2 separate regions of the Homo sapiens genome follow, and region 2 is linked to region 1. Evidence: promoter capture Hi-C in human tissues and cell types (Jung and others, 2019). All regions are on one chromosome and are shown on one strand. Each heading gives the region's core, a stretch centred on a gene start or on the middle of the fragment in contact. The rest is flanking DNA. Distances are from core to core; before and after follow the strand shown.

Region 1 (5,697 bases), core at 2,291-4,790:
GATGTGGGAGGATCGCCTGAGGCCAGGAGATCGAGGCTACAGTGAGCCGTGTTTGTGCCACTGCACTCCAGCCTGGGTGGCAGAGTGAGACTCTGCCTCAACAAAATAAAAATCAAAGAAATAAAATGACTCAGTGAAATGTGGCCATCCAGGGTGAGAGGAAGGAGGCAGAGGGGAGTCGGGAGTATCTGGCTGGGATGCCCATTAGGCTAGACCAGAAAGCCTGAGTGGAATGGAGGATGGAGGATGGAGAAGAGAGCTTCGGGAGGGCGTCATAGGCCTGAAATGCCTCCATGGAGATATCTGCCTTTAACATTCCTTTGGGTTTTTTGTTTGTTTTGAGATGGGTGGGTCTCCCTATGTTGCCCAAGCTGGTCTCAACACTCCTGGGCTCAAGGGATCCTCCCATCTCATCCTCCCTAGTAGCTGGGATTATAGGTATGTGCCACCGCACCTGGTTTACTTTTTGTTTTTTGTTTTGTTTTGTTTGTTTGTTTTTGAGATGGAGTCTCAGCAGTTTCAGTGGTGTGGTGGGGACAAAAGACAGGTATGAGTCGGTTGAAGAGACATAGCGGGAGGGGCATGGAGCTCTGGAGAAACTTCCTCTTAAATGTAGCTGAGGGATAAGGCAGCACCCGGAGGGCAAGGGGCTTTAAGGGAAATTTTTTTTTTTTTTTTTTTGAGATGGAGTCTCGCTCCGTCGCCTGGGCTGGAGTGCAGTGGCACGATCTCGGATCACTGCAACTTCCACCTGCCGGGTTCAAGCAACTCTCCTGCCTCAGCTTCCCGAGTAGCTGGGACTACAGGCATGCGCCTCTATGCCCAGCTAATTTTTTTGTATTTTTAGTAGAGAGGGGGTTTTAGCATGTTGGTTTGCCAGGATGATCTCCATCTCTGGACTTTGTGATCTGCCCACTTCGGCCTCCCAAAGTGCTGGGATTACAGGCGTGAGCCACCGCGCCCGGCCGGGGAATGTTTTGTTTTTAAAATGAGCCCTTTTTTTTTTGAGATAGGGTTTCTCTCTGTCACCACGGCTGGAGTGCAGTGATGCAGTCTTGGCTCACTGCAGCCTTGACCTCCCTGGCTCAAACAATTCTCCCACACCAGCCTGCTGAGTGGCTGGGACCACAGGCGTATGCCACCATGCCTGGCTAAGTTTTTGTAATTTTAGTAGAGACGGGGTTTCACCGTGTTGCCCAGGCTGGTCTCGAATTCCTGAGCTTGAGCAATCCTCTCACTTCTGCCTCCCGAAGTGCTGGGATTACAGGTGTGAGCCACCAAGCCCGGCCTAAAAATGAGATGTTATACATTTACTTCAGACCCCAGATTCTACAATCCACAGGCAAGATAAGTGGCATCAGGGGAGGACAGCAGAAAACTGTTAAGTGCGCCTTGTGGAACCCAGCGGTTACAGTTTCAAGTCCACAGCCCAGTAAAGTCTGAGACCCCAAGGGAGGGAATGAGAGGGAAAGTGGGTGCCTGCGTCTGGGTCCCTCAACCTGCCTGCCTATGTAAGGACCCAGTGGGGCACAGGACAGGAGATCTGGGGCACCAGTATTTGCCTTCAGCGTCAGACGATCTACACAGGACAGGAGGCAGGTGGGAGGACTGAAGGAAACAGCCTCTGAAACGGTCAGTCTGGAGGCAGCAGGCGTGTGGGCCTCAGGGGTTCCCTCCAGGAAGGCCGAGGGAACAGAACCGCAGGGGCAGAGCACAGGTGTAGCAGAGAAGGGCTCAGTGCCAGTTCCTTTGAGAGACGGTCAGGGAGCGGACAGAGGGGGCCCATAGCCGACTAGGGGCGGCTTGGTCATGGGCTCCTCTTTCCTCAGTGGGCTGAGGGGTTAGGTCCTTTGAGGAGCGCTGAGGAGACTGTGGTAAGGGGAAGCGCCCTCCATCCCAGAGGCTTTCCTGGAACAAGTGGGTTGGAAGGACCAGGTGTTTGGGAGCTGCTGGGAGCAGGTGCAGAAGCCAAGGCATTCCCAGATGGGGGAGACTGGGGGTGGCAAGGTGGCTTTTCAGGGATCCAGCCTGCATGCCACCTATGCAGCCATGCTCCGGGGGCGACATCCGCCTGTGTCCTTCAGCTCTTCCTCAGCCTCCACCCGCCACCCGGGAGTCAGTGCCTGGACTGGAGCTCTAGCTGGAGGGCGTCTAGGAAAGGTCCCAAGGGGTGCGCAGGATGACCTGGTGTCTCTCCAGAGTCACCCCTGCTAAAATACTATGTGGCCAGCCCCAAGTCAGTTGCAGGTCATGGTGTTGGGATCTTCCACAAGGCCTCCTGGAGTCGCGCTGGGGGAGGGTGGGGTACTCAGTCTGTCGCAGAGCCCCAGGCCATCCGTCGCCAAGAGGAGCACTCCAGCGCTTCCCTCCTAATGCGTTCTTATCTTGCCGGGAGGAGAACTGGGCCAGCCTTACTCACCCAATCTATGCATGAGGCTTCCCCAACGCGCCAGAAGCCCTTCCTTCGCAGAGGTGGGCTTGCCCCGGCCTGTCCCCGTTCCTCTACCATGGTTAGGGCACAGTGGCCGAGGACTCCGTCCCAGCGCGGCTGAGCCGGAAAGCGATGGCGGCCGGAGGGGTCGGGAGGTTGGTTAGCGCTTTACGGAGCTGCGTGTTCCGTTTCCAAGGGCTGTAGAGCCTTCTACTGGGAGCCACCGTGGATCAGGCCAGGGGTTCGTCAGCTGCATTTGCCGGATCGCATCGCAGCACGCGCACCCACACGCGCACACGCCCTACTCGCAGGAGACTAAGCGCCCCGAAAAGGCGCGTCCCCGGGCGGGTCGCAGCCGGTCCAGGAAAGGGGACAGGGCGCAAGGGCCATTTGGGGAAGGAAAAAGGGGGCGAACCATGACCTTGACCTCATAGAAGGCCGAGGACGTGAAGAGGCTGGCAGATAAGTTGGCGAGGCTCGCAGCGAAAACCCAAAGCAGCCGAGCTCGGAGAGCGCCGTCTCAGCGGGCGAGGGCGTAGCCCGGGGAATGCACGGAGGTCCGTCTAGTCAGTCGGGGCGCGCTTCCTGGAGGAGGAGGAGAAGGACTTGCGGCCGGAGCTACCGGGATAAATGCAGGAGGCGGGGCAGCCAGCGGGCGTGGCCCTGCGGAGGTCCCCGGTCGAAAGGAGGAGACAGGGGCCGGCCGCGTACTTAAAGCGGACGCGGGGGAAGCCCTCCCGGGGTCTGCCTCAGTCGCACAGCTCGGTGGGCTCGTGGCGCAGTCGAACGTTTTCCCAGAAGCTCCCCGGCCCCGTCCAGCCCCTAAACTCGCGACGCTGGGTCTGCTGGGTCCGGCGCGCACAGGCTCGAAGGAGCCGGGTCTACTCGGTTTGGCCCAGCAGCTGCGGGCGGCGGGGAGCAGCCCAGCCCGGCTGGAGCAGCCTCCCGCGGGTGAGGGCGCGGGGCGGGCGGCCGGGTCCCAGCCCTCGGCAGCTCTGCCTACCGCGCCCGGGCGCGGCGTCTGAGCGGCATTAGGACCCAGGCGCGGCGTGGGGGTGTGTCGCCGGCTCCCGCCGCCGGCCCGCCCGAGTCGCCGAGTTTGGGGTCCAGAAGCGCCGGAGCGCCGCGTGAGGAGCCCGGCCGTGAGTGCGCGAGTGTGCCATGGCCGCGGCCACCAGGCGCGTGTTCCATCTGCAGCCGTGCGGTGGGTGCCTGAACCCGGGGGCGCGGCGGGAAGGCCGCCCGGGTCTCCGCCACCGTCTCCCGTCGGGGACCCCGGGGAGAACGCGGATGCCGTCTGCCTGCGCGGGCCGGGGCCGGTGGGCGAGAGGGCTGCGGGATTCCCAGCCGCGGGGAGGAGGGCGCGGGTGCGGGAGGCCCGGGCGCGGCTTCGCGGCCACCGCGCGCTTGGTTTCATTAGGGCTCTGCTGTCGCCGTCTTGAATTTCTTACCAGGTTTGAACAGCTGATGCAGCGGGTCGAGGGCGGGGAGCTCGAAAGTGGGCAGGGCGGAGCTGTGGGGCTCCCAGCGCCCCGAGCGCCGAGCTTTTGGGAGCCTGGCGGGCCGCCGCCTCGGAAGGTCTCATTTTACCTTCCGCCCGGGCATCTTCCCGTCCGGCGCCGCGGTGGGAGCCCCGGAACCCCTGGAGTTTTGGGAGTCCCGGGACCCCTGACCGTGCCCTGCGCGGCCGCAGCGGTTTCTCCCTTGCTCTGACACGGGAGGGCCAGCCCTGGGTCCCCGCCAGGACCCAGGTTTGTACGACCCTTTACCTGCACGTGGGCCGCCGGGACGGAAGCGGAGTGTGCACCGGCCCAACCCTCCCAGACCCTCGTCGCCCACGGCCTGGGACGCGCCCCAGCGCCCCCGCCCCCCACTTCAGGATGCAGCCCCGGCTCCCGCCCCGCGCCTGCATTCACATCCTGCGCCCCGACCCCCGGGGTCTCCGAGTCTGGAGGCGCTTTCCTCTCGTGCACGCGGCCCCTCCTGTCGCTTCCTTCCTCCGACAGCGAGGCACAAACAGCCGGGACCATCCGGGGACCGGCCCAGGGAGGGCGCAGCCTCCCCCGACCCATGTGTCCCTCAGATACTCCTCCCACCCCCAATTGTTCTCCCTTTTGGACCAACGGCTCTGGCTTCCAGGCGGCCGGGACGCGGTCCCAGGACTGGAGACCGTTGCCTGTCGGCCCCCGTGTGACCCGGGGCGCGTGACGGGGGTCGGGGGAACTGCGCCTGCAATGGGCGTTTATGGCCCCCAGGACCGGTCTGAGAGTGAGAAGAGGGATGTGCAGAGAGATCCCCCGCCTTGGCATCCGAGGAGAGAGGGGGAGAGGCCCGCTCGGGCCCGGTCCCTTCCTCTCGCTGCAGCGGGGCAGGGTTTTCTCAGGAAAACCTGGATTAGCGAACATGGTACTGGTACTAACTCGGTGGGAAGACATCCCTGGAACGTCTCTCCTCCTCGCCTCTGGCCCGCCTGGGCAGCCCCTAGCAGATGGGCTAAGCAATTGAATTTCTGAGATTAAGGCTGGCTTCCCCTGCTATGGGGCCCCCTCCCGAGCACTGTCCCCTGCTTCCCTTTCTCCCTAGGGTGGCGTGGGTTGCATCCCTCGGAAGAGCGAAGGAATGAGCCAGGTCGGGGGGCGGGGAGACAGGTGCACACAGGAGGTCCAGGGCTTGGTCCATGGGGCTGGTGACCTTTCTGCTTCCCTTGCAGAAAACTCTCCCACCATGTCGCAGAATGGATACTTCGAGGATTCAAGTGAGTACCTCTCGGGGAGTGTGTGTGTGCAGAGAGAGCTTGTCGGGCAAAAGCCTCCAGGGTGCATAGCCTACCCACCAGAGTCCTGTGGCTTTGCTCGCCTATCTGGGCCACTCTAGTGCTGGAATGCTTTTGGCTTCCACTCTTCGGGAAGCTAGACATGGGCGGATCCCCCGTGGACCTGAGAGGGCAGGCTGCCCATTCTCCTGGGCTACTTGGACCAGGTGAACCCTCTGGGATTCTTACCCAAGGTTTTCTGTGACAATGGCCTGTTATCTGACTAGCCTTGGGCCAAGAATTCTGTGTGCCCCTGTCCCTCTGTCCTCACCCAGCCCTGGAGGGAATATCTGTCGTTGTCTCTTTAAAGAAATATAAGGCCTCTGTGCTGCAGTCCCTCGGGCACCTTCCTGCTGTCCCTGCTTGTACCAGTCCAGCTGTCTTCCTCCTCATGTCTCTGGGCTGGCTTCAGGCTGTGTCCTGTGCCTAGCCCCATGAGTGACCTGACCATTCG
Region 2 (5,817 bases), core at 2,377-4,876, 77 kb before region 1:
AGAAATAATTATATCCTAATGTGTCATATGATATCATAATGTGTCATATGATGACCTTCATATAAGAATGCCCTTGTTTCTCCAGCTATACATTATAGATTTCCTGAAGACAGGCACCATGCTGTATTTTTTCTTTCCCCGTGCCACATGGTGGGAAGTACATAACAAGTGTCCAACAAATGCTACATGTTATCTTTTTAATATCCTCTCTTCCCTTCCTCAATACCAGTGGCCAAATATGAACATGAAGGATCAGGAACCCCCAGGATCTGTCCACCTGATTGGTCTGGGAACCAAAGACATAGGATTGCCATTGTCACTTAAGAGGGACCATGTAGCTCAGGAGGGTTCTGTGTCTTCAGATGCTCGAAATCCTTTGAGACAGCTTTAGATAAACCTTCCAGTTGTCAAACCTGAAAGGAAAGTTAATTCAAATATAGACGCCTACTTGTCTCTTTTGTATATCCTATTATCATAATAATATGGAAAATTAAGGGCTTTGGCCTTAACTGTGGTTTTTTTCCTTTCAACCTTGTGGCCTCTTTAAGTTTTTATTTGAAAATTCAGCAATCCGTTCAAGAGCCTCAGATCTTTTGTCTCTGTCCTAAGGGGTGGGACAGGCGTCCCAGGCTAGGACGACAATATGTGAAAGTGGACTTAGGAGATCTGCACCAGCACCCACCGCTCACTACTATTCAGGGTAGGAGGGGACAGGTCCTTGTGCTACTTATCCCATGTCCCTCATCAGATCTTCCTGGTCATCACAGACTCTAGCTCTAGCTAACATCATTTTCTCTTTCTTCTGCTGGCTTCTTCCCGGAATTGTTTCATTTTCACTAGTTTTTACCTAATAAATTAGGGCTTTCTTACCAGACATTTGGGAGCTCTCTGAGTTGTTCTAATTTTGTTTCCAGGCTACTGAAGCCTCAGCTTTTATTTGTCTTGGCCATAAAAGCTTGATAGCTTTCTTGCTTTTTTTTTTTTTTTTTTTTTTTTTTTGAGACGGGGTCTCGGTCCGTTGCCCAGGCTGGAGTGCAGTGGCATGATCATAGATCACTGCAGCCTCAACCTCCTGGGCTCAAACAATCCTCCTGCCTTAGCCTCCTGAATAACAGAGACCACAGGCAGACGCCACCATGCCTGGCTATTTTTTTTTCTTTTTTTTTTTTTTTTTTTTTTGAGACAGAGTCTTGCTCTGTTGCCCAGGCTGGAGTTCAGTGGCGCGATCTCAGCTCACTGCAGCCTCCACCTCCCAGGTTCAAGCAATTCTCCTGCCTCAGCCTCCCAAGTAGCTGGGATTACAGGCACACGCCACCATGCCTGGCTAATTTTTTTTTGTATTTTTAGTAGAGATGGGGTTTCACCATGTTGCCCAGGCTAGTCTCAAACTCCTGGGCTCAAGTGATCCACCCGCCTCAACCTCCCAAAGTGTTGGGATTATGGGCATGAGTCATTATGCCTAGCCTAATTTTTTCTTTAGTAGAGTGGGGATCTCACTGTGTTGTTCAGGGTGGTCTCAAACTCCTGGGTTCCTTGACCTCCCAAATTACTGGGATTACAGGCATGAGCCACTGTGCCTAGTCAGCATAAAGCAATTTGAGGGAATATACGGAAACATAAGGATACTTTCCTTATAGCCCAAGGGTGTCTCTGATCAGGGAGCAATTTCAGGGAAGCCTGGGTGATCCTAAAGTCACCTCCCAGTTCAAAGATGTATTTAGGATAACTCCAGTTTTCCCTAGAAACTCTTCAGTACTCTTTTGCCATGTTCCTTTAGGCAGTATTTGTGGTCTCATTCTTATGGACTTCTCTGAAAGTTTTGGGCTGGTAACTGATCTAACTGGTTTCTCATTCAATGCAGGCTTGTATGGCCGTCTATGACATTCCTGACTTACTGGGAGGCAATGGTTGTTTAGGATCTGTGGTTTTCTCTGAATCATTTTTGACTTCTCAGATCTTAGTTAAAGAAAAGGGTAAGTATATGTGATCTTTAGAAAGCAAACCTTAAGCCTTTTTTTTTTTTTTTTGGCAAAATAAACTATAAACTAAGGCAAAAGGCCAACAATAAACTGGTAAAAATATTAGAACTGATGATCACAGCACTGCACTCCAGCCTCAGTGACACAGTGAGACCCCGTATCAAAAAAAAAAAAAAAAGAGAAACATTAAAGATGAACAAAGGGTGTATAACCTAATTTATGAAGAACTCTTCCAAAATTAATAAGAAAAGATAAGCTACCCAATAGTAAAATGAGCAAAAAAAATGAACAGGCACTTCACAGACGTGGAAAACAAAAAAGAGAGGAGGACTATTTATAAATGAAGATATGTAATCTCACTAGTAGTCAAGAAGAAGCAACTTGAAGGCTGGGCGTGGTGGTTCATGCCTGTAATCCCAGCACTTTGGGAGCCCAAGGTGGGCGAATCACTTGAGGTCAGGAGTTTGAGACCAGCCTGGCCAACATGGTGAAACCCCATCTCTACTAAAAATACAAAAATTAGCCGGGCATGGTGGTGGGTGCCTGTAATCCCAATTACTCGGGAAGCTGAGGCAGGAGAATCACTTGAACCTAGGAGGCGGAGGTTGCATTGAGCTGAGGTCGCACCACTGCACTCCAGCCTGGGTGACAGAGTGAGACTCTGTCTCAAAAAAAAGCAATTTGAAACAGTAATTAGATATTATTTTTTTACCTGTTAGGTTGGCAAAATATTCTAAAGATTTATTATATTCTAAGGAATGAAAATATTCTAAAGAATGGTAGAATGAGCCTGATAATTCTCTTTGATCTTTAATATGTATACCTATACTACCTTGATAAAAATTAAAAAGTAGTGGTAAAATGGACTAATTCCCAAAAGTTTTGTTTCTTGGTTTTGGGGTTTTTTTTTTTTTTTTTTTTTGAGACAAGGTCTTGCTCTGTCACCCAGGCTGGAGTGTGGTGGCATAATCTCGGTTCACTGCAACCTCCACCTCCTGGGCTCAAGCGATTTTCCCACCTCAGCCTCCCAAGTAGCAGGGACCACAGATGCGCCACCACACCTGGCTAATTTTTCATATTTTTTGTAGAGACGGGGTTTTGCCATGTTGCCTGCAATCCCAACACTTTGGGAGGCTGGGGCTGGCAGATCACCTGAGGTCAGGAATTTGAGACCAGCCTAGCTAGCATGACAAAATTCCATCTCTACTAAAAATACAAAAATTAGCCCGGCATGGTGGCACGCATCTGTAATCCCAGCTATTCGGGAGGATGAGTCAAGAGAGTTGCTTGAACTTGCTAGGCAGAGGTTGCAGTGAGCCGAGATGGCGCCACTGCACTCCAGCCTGGGTGACAGAACAAGATTCTGTCTCAAAAAAAAAAAAAAAAAAAAAAGAACCCTAGCTCCTGAGAAGGGCATTTAGGGTCTGGGGCCTGCAAGGCAGGCTGAGCTGGTAGGGAATTAACTGGCATGTGTGTGGTGTTCCTGCAGATGGCACTGTTACCACAGAAACCAGCTCCGTAGTCCTGACTGCTGCTGTACCCAGATTCTGCTCCTGGCTGGTTAGTGTCATTCATCAGGTGGAAGTGGACCTACGTGTGGAGAAATCAGGGTGAACACTTGAGGAAGAGCCTCTTTGTTGGGCCCCTGGTGGGATGTCAGGTCCTGAACTAGCTGTTGTTCAGGAATGGAATTTTTGATCCCAGCCCTTTCTCTTTATACAAATGAACATAGTTCCGTTAACTCTCATAATCTTAGAAAAGTTTCAAAAGAAAGGAACAAAGTTACGTGGGTCACTGTTAAATTAGGAAAGGAAGAAATTAAGAGCCTCATTTTACAAATGAGGAAACTGAGCTTAGGAGTTGAACGGCCCGGCCAAGGTCACACAAATCATGAGAAGTGGATCCCGTGACTTGCTTCCCTGGTAGAGTGGTTGCTACGGAGTTTTTACTGCAACATCTCTCTGCTAGTAGAAAAGTCCCATCTTCCGCAGTGGGAGGGACTTGGTCTGAAACTGGGGCCTTGGAATGTAAAAGGTGTGACAGCAGTTAGTCTGCTAATGGGCTGAGTCCCTTCTTGAGAGTGCTCACATTCTGCTTCTACAGTTCCCACACAGACAGGGAAGACCGAGAGTTATCCTCTAACCTAAACGTGTTTAAATCTGAAAATATTTTAATACATTATCTTTGCTTCATCCCTAAAAACAGTTGTTTTTTTCTGAAGTGAAATACAGGTGGAGACTAACACATCCCCTCTGCTTGTCATAAGCTCATTAGCTGGACCTCAGGTCCTAGTGAGAGAGCCCACCAAGGCCTTGGGCTCTGAGCCCAGGTGACCAGCAGACATCTCAGGTGTGTCAGGGCCTGAGAGCACTGGACATGGACATGGTGGAAGGACTGTCCAGCCAGTGTCCTGGAAATATTTGAACACAGTGGGGAGACCTAGCAGGGTTTTCCCTTGAAGTAGTTGACTGAAAATCTGCATTCCTTTTGGACACAGGTGGAAGATAATGAAGTAAAATTGTCTGAGAAAACCCAGCAAGCAGTGAGGGTAAGCAGCCTTCTTATTCTCAGTGTGAACATTATATCAAAAAATAATGTAAGCAATTCATAAAGGTATTAAAATGCTTCATCTCACTACTAATCTAAAAGACTTGCACTATGTTGTCTTCACTTCCTATTTGCATTCCTCCCCTTCCCAGCAGAGCTTTAGAAATAACCATTTATGGGGGATACAATTAGAGGGATTCTTTATTCCATCAGGGCCTTCTGGTGTTCTTTTAAAAATCTCCCCATAATATTAAAAGCAGATCCCAGATTGGCCTAGACATGTAGAGCTGAGACATCAAGGCTTTAGGCCAAGGAGAAGCTGCCTCTGTTTTCACAAAGGAAATAAATCCACTGGAACATGAACAAGCATTGCGGGCTTTGATGCCTGGACTCAGAGAGAATCTTAATGTTCTTTTTCTCAGCACAAATCAAGGATGCCAGTAACTGCCAAAGAGCCAGACAATGCCAAAGGCCATGGAATACATTGGGCATATCTGAGCCTGACTCAGCTTTTGTAGACGGACATAATTGGGCAGGACTTTTGATTCTGTGAATATTTATGCTATAAATCACCTATTCTTTTTTGGATTTTTGTTTTTGTTGTTGTTTTTAAAGGGGGATGAGTCTTTCCTGGGCACTTATCTAACAGGAGGAGAAGGAGCATATCTTTATTCCAGCAATCTACAGTCCTGGCCTGAGGAAGGTAAGGAGCTATGACTTTAATGTTTTTGGCCATGTCTGGGTCCCTCATTTGCAGATGTCAGCATGGGTGTTGTAATTAATAATACATCTTCTATTTGAACACAATTGTGGTACAGAAATGTTTTCCTACAGCTTTTCTCTCGACCCACCCACTTTGTAGATGAGGAAATTTATGCTAGGAAGGGCTGATCACAGAACTGTACCTGGTCCTTTTGTTGCTGCCTGAGGTTAGTTAGCTCTCTCAATGGGCTAGGGCAGCAGCATTTCCAGAAATAGAATTTGTGGACCTAAACAGAAGCTGGATTCATTTCTCTTGCTGTGTAACAAATGACCACAAATTTAGTAGCTTAAAACAACACCCTCTTATTATCTCACAGTTCTCCAGGTCAGAAGTTCAGGCAGGCTTGGCTGGACCCAGATCTCTTGAGGTCAAAATCAAGGCATCAGCCAGGCTAGGCTCTTATCTAGAGCCTCTGGGGAAGAATCTTCTCCCAATCTCAGCAAGGATGTTGTTTCCTTTCGCTTGTAGGAATGAGGTCCCCATTTTGTTGGTGGCTGTCAGACAGGGATCCTCTCAGCTCCTCCTCCC

What was found. The method cuts DNA at HindIII sites, captures the fragments that hold promoters and counts their contacts. A contact is called where the count stands out against the background at its distance.
Region 2: a contact is called between a fragment that was not itself captured here and the fragment with the promoter of SLC4A11 in region 1, in 3 of the 25 tissues and cell types used here (adrenal gland, bladder and hippocampus).

Annotation. Positions count from the first base shown.
Region 1 is chr20:3,237,033-3,242,729 of GRCh38, reverse strand. It overlaps SLC4A11 (solute carrier family 4 member 11), which reads left to right and starts at 3,540. Exons shown (of 20, transcript NM_001174089.2): 1 at 3,540-3,635; 2 at 5,142-5,186. The coding sequence starts at 3,593. RefSeq lists silencers at 3,291-3,450, 3,551-3,730. The HindIII fragment of the contact is 33,876 bases long and covers 1-5,697 here.
Region 2 is chr20:3,314,445-3,320,261 of GRCh38, reverse strand. DNAAF9 (dynein axonemal assembly factor 9) reads left to right here. Exons shown (of 37, transcript NM_001009984.3): 17 at 1,862-1,973; 18 at 3,469-3,539; 19 at 4,477-4,527; 20 at 5,142-5,229. Among named protein-coding and RNA genes, the nearest start is that of SLC4A11, 78 kb to the right of the region's middle. The HindIII fragment of the contact is 6,892 bases long and covers 181-5,817 here.